Regions from separate parts of the Homo sapiens genome. Here region 2 is linked to region 1. Evidence: promoter capture Hi-C in 16 types of primary human blood cells and fetal thymus (Javierre and others, 2016). All regions are on one chromosome and are shown on one strand. Each heading gives the region's core, a stretch centred on a gene start or on the middle of the fragment in contact. The rest is flanking DNA. Distances are from core to core; before and after follow the strand shown. Region 1 holds the start of UTP23 (UTP23 small subunit processome component). Region 2 holds the start of EMC2 (ER membrane protein complex subunit 2).

Region 1 (3,508 bases), core at 256-2,755:
GAAAAGTGGCCAAGGAGCTGGTAGATAAATCTGAGGCTATTTAAGAAAAAATGTTTTAACTGTTTTGCAAGACTCAGGTGGTATCTCGTTTCTCTGTCTGTGGTGGGCGCATAGTTGGAGTAGAGAGTTGGCATACAGGGATAAAAAGAGGATTCAAATTGAAAAGTACTGAGCAATTACACTCAAAGACCTTGAATCCAACCCTGCAAAAGTTTTCATGGCTTCCAATTCCTAAATTCATTTTAAGTTTAAATGAAAGCAACCATCTAAGTGATGTGCTGGGACTCAGATCAGGGCTAACATTATAGATCTTATTCCAATTTCATAAACCTACATATTGAAATAAAACCCCAAATGCAAACAATGCATTCAATCACGTTGTAAATCATTTTCTGTGCTGGTTCTTTCAATCTTTAGCCAAAACTAGATCTGGGACAGATTCCAGGCAAGGACAAAAATGCAAAATTCCATACTCCCCATTCTTTGATTATTTTACCTTGAAGTGGATACTCGACAGTTAGCCACGGGAGAACTTGAAATTTTCTGATTCATTCTCCTCATTAATCAAATTGACCAAGTAATTTTTAAACCTCCAGTCAGCTTTGTGCCTTCCTGTTACTGGCCCAGTATGTAGTCTTCCTATGTCAGAGACCATGCACATAAAAAGAGTACTTGAAACTTATCTAGACCTACAACCAGTTTGACAGTGAGGAAGTTGAACCCAGCTTTCTTCGGGAGTTGCCCAAGATCAAACGGCTTGGGTTTGTGGCAAAACCAGGACTCAAGGTTAGGAATTCTGACTCTAGGCAAACGAAGCTCTTGAGAGTTCTTCCAAAACACTCCATGCGAGTGATTTAGGATGGTCCTAAGGCAGGAGGAAATGCAAAATGGTGGCACCCTTTGCCCTGACAAATGGTTCCTGAGTGACGTTAGTTTCTATGGTGGTGTAGCAAGAACATTTGAACTTCAGGCACGAAAACTGGGTTCCAGACACTAACAAACTACGTGCCCTTCGTGAACGTGCTTAATTTCTTTATGGGAAAGCAGCCAGTACAAACCTCCCCACTCATAGCTATCCAATATATCATTTCCTTCTTTCACTTGGGAATTATAAACATTCAGGGGAATAATGTAAGGTAAATCACTTAGGACAGTGTCTGGAACATATTAAGGCTCAATATTATCACTGACTACTACTATACTGCCAGTCTTTCAGAGAAGCTCTTGCTACGCGCCTCTAAAACGTAGGTAACACGCTAAATGTATTCTCGTAATTTTCTTTTACCGTGGCCCCAGACTGCGCATGTGCGCCCCCGTGCGGAATCGCGCACCCCAGCGGTTTTCCAGCGTACGCACAAGTTCCGCCCTAAGGGACCGCCCCTTTAAGCGCGGGCACTGCGGTGGAAGCGCGCGCTGGTCTGGACATGACGTAAACCAATGGGCAGGCCCGGAAGACAGAGGCGTTTGCTTCCGTGGCCAAAGGCGCTTCATTTCCGGGTGAAACTGGCATTGAGGGTACTGGGGCGTGCGTGAGGCGTTTACTGATGCTTCCTGGTCCGGTGGCCTCGGTCCCGGTAAGCCAGGCATGAAGATCACAAGGCAGAAACATGCCAAGAAGCATCTTGGCTTCTTCCGCAACAACTTCGGAGTCCGCGAGCCGTACCAGATCCTGCTGGACGGCACCTTCTGTCAGGCGGCGCTGCGGGGCCGCATCCAGCTGCGGGAGCAGCTGCCCCGCTACCTCATGGGGGAGACGCAGCTGTGCACCACAAGGTGGGCCCGGGGGGCTGGGGAGGAGGCACAGAGGGTCCGTCGGGTGTTGTAGAGGCGAGGCCGTTGCTCACAGACCTTCATTGCGAGCTCAGGAGGTGCAAAACGCCCCGCCCACGTGGAGTTGACAGTTAAGTGGAGAGGTGAAGGTGGTCAGGCGAATACCTATAATAGAGGCAGATTGGACAGTGCCCTGTGAATATCACGTGTCGTTAGCCTGGCGAATGAGAGCACATTATAGCAGAGAGATCCGACTTCGAATCTTGATCCCAGTTCTACCAGCTCTGTGATTTCTGTCAAGTTATTTAGCCTCTCTGAGCCTCGGATTCCTCATTTGTAAAATAAAGATGATAACTGCTTAGAAGATTGCTGTAAGCTCAAACGAGTATAGTGTACTAGAGCATTTTTCGGTATCCAAAGTGTACCCGTCTTCAAATGGTTGCTGTCATTTGCATAGCTTTTCTTAGTTTAAACCAAAACTCTGCAAGCCTCACAGTGAACCTGTGAGTTACCATCTTTGATGTCCAGGGCAAAAAGTCAGTACTTGAGATTAAGGAATCTGCCCAAGCACATTTGTTTATTCAACTCGCTTTATTAAGTACCTCCTATATGCCACATACTGCTCCCTCATGGCCAGTAAAGTGCATAAGTCAGTCTGCAGTGTGTGTTTTCACTCTAGGTCTGATGTTTCCCCACTTCATTGAAATGTGGGAACACTTAGGATGGAAGCTTGTCGGGATGAAGAGGAGAGAGGAGAGAATTGTGACAGATTTCAGATAACATTTGAGCCCATTCACTTGTTCAGTTCTGAGAGGAAGAACTATTTTGAATGACAGAAAAGAATGACACTTCTTGTTGTGGAGACCTCTTCACACGAAATGGAGTTATGAAATGCCTGGGAAAGAGGTTGCAGCACAGAATATATTTGGGAGTGAAACTAGGAAGAAGGCAAATTGAGGCTAGGCCATGAAGAACTATTAAGAAATTTAGTAGTTTTTTCATTGTAGAATATTTACTTTTAAAAAGCAAAAAAAGAAAATTAAAATGACTCATAATACCACTACTCACGAATAATCACTGTTAACATGTGCAGTGTCATCCATCCAGTTCTTTATACACACTCACACAAGCACAAGAATGGACTTTTAAGCCAGGCAAGGTGGCTCACACTTGTAATCCTAGTAGCTACACAGGAGGCTGAGACAGGAGGGTTGCCTGAGTCTAGGAGTTTGAGGTGAGCCTGAGCAACGTAGGAAACCCCCATCTCTAACTACAGCCATAACAAAGTATGGGCTTTTTCTGTGTATACTGTGTTAATAGTCTCCTTTTCCTCACATACGATTACTTAATGAACAGCTATCTGTATTTGTTCAGAATTTCTCAAGCAGGGTCTCGGCTGGGTTACAGATACCCCCAAAGTTTTGATCCCCTTAGTCTTTAGGGCTGTCTAACAAATCCTTCAGTAGTCTTTGCTCCTGAATTGATTGCTTTTGTCTACAAGCAATTTGTCCATATACTCCTGTGTGCCATAGAAATATTAACATTTTAAATATAGTGCTATGATATTAAAAAGGTTGAGAAGTGCCACATAAAATTATATTCTACAGCAATTTTTCTAACAAATTTATTTTAACTCTGGAATTTTTCAGACAACTCAAAGGTAGAATAATATAATGAAACCTCTCTCCAGCTTTTGCAGTTATTAACATGGCCAATCTTGTTGAATCCCTCACCTCTC
Region 2 (3,508 bases), core at 544-3,043, 8.3 Mb before region 1:
CCACGCAGGGGCTTTAGCTGCAGCATCTGTTTTTATCTTGATTAACAACACAAGGTAGCTATTTTCTTTTTACACACATATTATTAGATTTTTATATATGAGCCTTTTTGATGTTTAGAGAGAAATAAGCTGAAAGTCACCCAGCTACTGAAAGGTAGAGCCTGGATTCAGATCTGGGAGTTCTTGTTCTTCCTATTGCACCAGGTTGCTTTACTGGAGCATTAAAATATGTGAATTTCTGAGTATTTTTTAACTTTTTGAATGAAAGATTTTTAAAAAGTCTGTTTAGAAAGAATGCCAGCTCATTCAGAATTGAATCCAAGTATATACATTCACTAGTCTTCTCTGTTGTTAAGTGACTTCTCTGGGGTCTATGGTTTGATGGTTTTTTTCCTTTTTTTAAACAAACAAACAAAAAAACCTCTGCGGTTGACTGGAGCCGACAGGTGAGGAATGGAGAGATGTTGGTCAAATAGTACAAACTTTTGGTTGTAAGATGAATATGTTCTGGAGATCGAATGTACAGCATGGTGACTACAGTTATAATTCTGTATTGTATACTTTGAAGTTTGCTGAGAGATTTTTAAGTGTTCTCAACACACACACACACACACACACACAGGAAATATGTACGGTGATAGATGTGTTAATTAGCTTGCTTGTGGTAATCATTTCACAGTGTATATTTACATCTAATCATTACTTTGTATACCTTAAATATACACAATTTTTGTCCATTACACCTCAATAAAGCTGAGAAAAAAAACCCTCCACTCTTTTGACTTGTGGGATAGTATTATTTCTACTTCTCAAATCAACTGCCCCTTCTTTACTGACCAATAACTTTCGGCTGCATTGCAGTGATTTTTAGTTTTTTCTCAGCTTACATATTTCCTCTACAATCTCATGTCCCCATTGCTTCAAATACTAAATATACGCTTATCATCCTCAAATTTTTTACTTCCTGTCCAGACATTTCTCCTTAAGTCTAGGAGATGACGTCCAAAGTTTCCTAAAAGCAATTAGTCTGGTGGGAAAGGAGGCTCCCCCATCCACCCAGGAGTAATGAGGAGCGAAGTTCAGGAACTGTGAAGGTCTCATTCGTACATTCATTCCTTATAAGTACTTACATACTCGCGACAGTTTGAAACCTAGTGTGGCATGCAGACATGGATGAAGCAATGACAGGCACGACGAGCGTTAATGAAGGGTATAAGCTAGCGCGAGGGCATTCAAGGGAACTTCAGAGCGCAAAGGAAGAATCCCACTTAGTCTCTCAAAACTTTGGAGTTTATCCGTTTAGTCGATTAAAAAGTGAACGGAAAGCAAATCCCATTACGGAAGGAGGAAAGTTGGGGACAAATAAGGGATTCGTGCAGAAGGCTGCACTGCGGCCGGCCATGAAGAGAATAAGGGTACTTAAGGGAGTGTGAAGAGAATGAACAAGCCTAGGTAGAAAAAACTGAAAAGCCAGGATTGACGGACACTAAAAACCCAGCATTTGTTAAAAATCCACGTCAACACACACACACACCTCACCCCGAGCCAGCACCGTAGCCCCGCCAGCAGCCAGGGTATCCTGAGATTGCGGGAGCGCCACGCACCGCCCACCTAGCTCCGTCCACCGTCCAGCTCGCTCCGCCCAGCTCGCTCCGCCCCCTTCCCCGAAAGCCCCTCCGCAGAGCCGCGTGCACGTGCGTGGCGGATACCGCCCCCTCTGCTCTCTTGGCCAATGAGAAAAAGCTACGTAACTCTCCACCGCCCGGTGGCGGGTCACGTGACTGCGTCTCCCCGCCCTCTCACCCCGCTGCCTCTAGGTTCTGGGAAGATGGCGAAGGTCTCAGAGCTTTACGATGTCACTTGGGAAGGTAACTTCGGGTGGGGGCGGGTGCGGAAAGACTAAAAGCGCTGGGAAGCCGTTCGGGAGTACCCGCTGCTTTCGGGGAGCTGGGTTCTCTGGTGTCTTTTTGGTACCAGAGCCCTCACTGTACGGGCCAAGCTGAGGTGGAGGCTGAGGCTGACCCTTCCCTTGGCCCGGACGCGTACTCTGCAGCGTTTCCCACGGTGTCTGCTCCTCGGTTGACCTGCCCTCCTCCGCGCCAGTCCAGCGTCCCGGGGCCGCTTTTATTTATGAGGCGGGCGGGAGGGACTTGGGGCTGGGGTTGTCGCACGCTAACTGGTTGCTGGGCGGTGCGGAAGAGGCGGAATAGGTGGTTACTGAAGCTTCTTTGGAGCCAAGAAACACAGGGCCTGTAAGGCCCTTTACTAAGTGGTGTGTAAGGATTACAGCTCTGTGCAGAAAAGCTGTGTAAAAGATGCGTGAACAAATGTGATTCTCATATGCCACTCTACATTTAGTTTTCTTCTTAAACCCGGGTTTCCAGTTTCTTTTCCTTTTAGTCTAGTCTCTGTCCCACTCCTTCTCAAAACACATTTACACACACAACACAACTTCTTTCTTACTCCCTACTAGTAGTTTCTTTTCTGAAGGGAAAAATAACTAATTAACTCTGGGCTACGTAAGTGCTTACGTGTGATGGTCACTTTTCCCTATCCTTAGTTGATCTAGAGTGGGATATGTTCTTTAAATCTGGGAACAGCCAAACCTTGGATCAATTCTGTGTGCTTAAGAAACTTGAGTTTCATTAAGGCGTGGAATTTGTGTAATTGGAATTCATATTCCCAGCATTTAACATAATACAGGAGACTTCAGTAGCTAATTTGCTTAACGAATGCCTTCTTGGGATGTTTTAATAATGACCTGAAAACATGTGGACCGAAAGTTGTATTTTCTGTTTTATCGTGAATAAATATATCAGTTATTATAAAGTTGTAAATCCGTTACAAATAAAGCAAAATTTCTTTGTACTTGAACTGAATTAAATGATTTATTGACTTTATGGCCTCTAGCACGTTGTGAATCTCAGTATTTATACCTGAATTGAGGGATTCCATTATATTAAACAACAGTGTTGATTTCTTACTGCAAAATCTTGGCTCTGTCAACACACAGTCCCCACTTCCAAGGAAGTCACAATCTAATGGAGAAAACAAACCTGTAAACACACAGTTTTAAAAGGCTTGTGTCAGGGTATCTTCCGTAAGCTGAGTCGTAGATAAATGGATGTTATTTTTAATGCTTTTTAAAAAATGTTTTAAATATTACATAATTTTTAGAAAATGCTATTATGAAGGTATGTTCATTATAGGTTTCCTAGATGATAGTAGCATATATAAAATCCTGAGGGACGAGTAGCTGTATACTACCAACAGACAAGGTGATTTAACTGAGTAATTGGACCTTACCCTGTGGTCATTCTAAAGAGGATTGATGTAATTAATTTGGAATAATAAATAATAACTACTACACAAATTTGTAGGAACAAAGAAAACATTTTAAAGTGCTTTGTAAACTGTTAAGTACTATATAAAAGGATGTGTTACTATTAGCTAGTGCTAATATGATTATGTCCTTCCTCTGTATGATCTGGCGGTTGCCCATGTCTCC

The links. The method cuts DNA at HindIII sites, captures the fragments that hold promoters and counts their contacts. A CHiCAGO score of 5 or more calls a contact.
Region 2: the fragment with the promoter of EMC2 here is called in contact with the fragment with the promoter of UTP23 in region 1 in 1 of 17 cell types (naive CD8 T cells); the score reaches 8.7 in naive CD8 T cells.

The regions. Positions count from the first base shown.
Region 1 is chr8:116,765,019-116,768,526 of GRCh38, forward strand. It overlaps UTP23 (UTP23 small subunit processome component), which reads left to right and starts at 1,506. Exons shown (of 3, transcript NM_032334.3): 1 at 1,506-1,773. The coding sequence starts at 1,586. It also overlaps a transcript of EIF3H not described here. RefSeq lists enhancers at 1,423-1,572, 1,583-1,892. The HindIII fragment of the contact is 9,967 bases long and covers 1-2,497 here.
Region 2 is chr8:108,441,831-108,445,338 of GRCh38, forward strand. EMC2 (ER membrane protein complex subunit 2) reads left to right here and starts at 1,794. Exons shown (of 11, transcript NM_014673.5): 1 at 1,794-1,868. The coding sequence starts at 1,829. LOC105375704 (a long non-coding RNA gene) reads right to left here and starts at 1,642. Exons shown (of 3, transcript XR_928530.4): 1 at 1,540-1,642. RefSeq lists a silencer at 1,628-1,747. The HindIII fragment of the contact is 5,303 bases long and covers 1-2,221 here.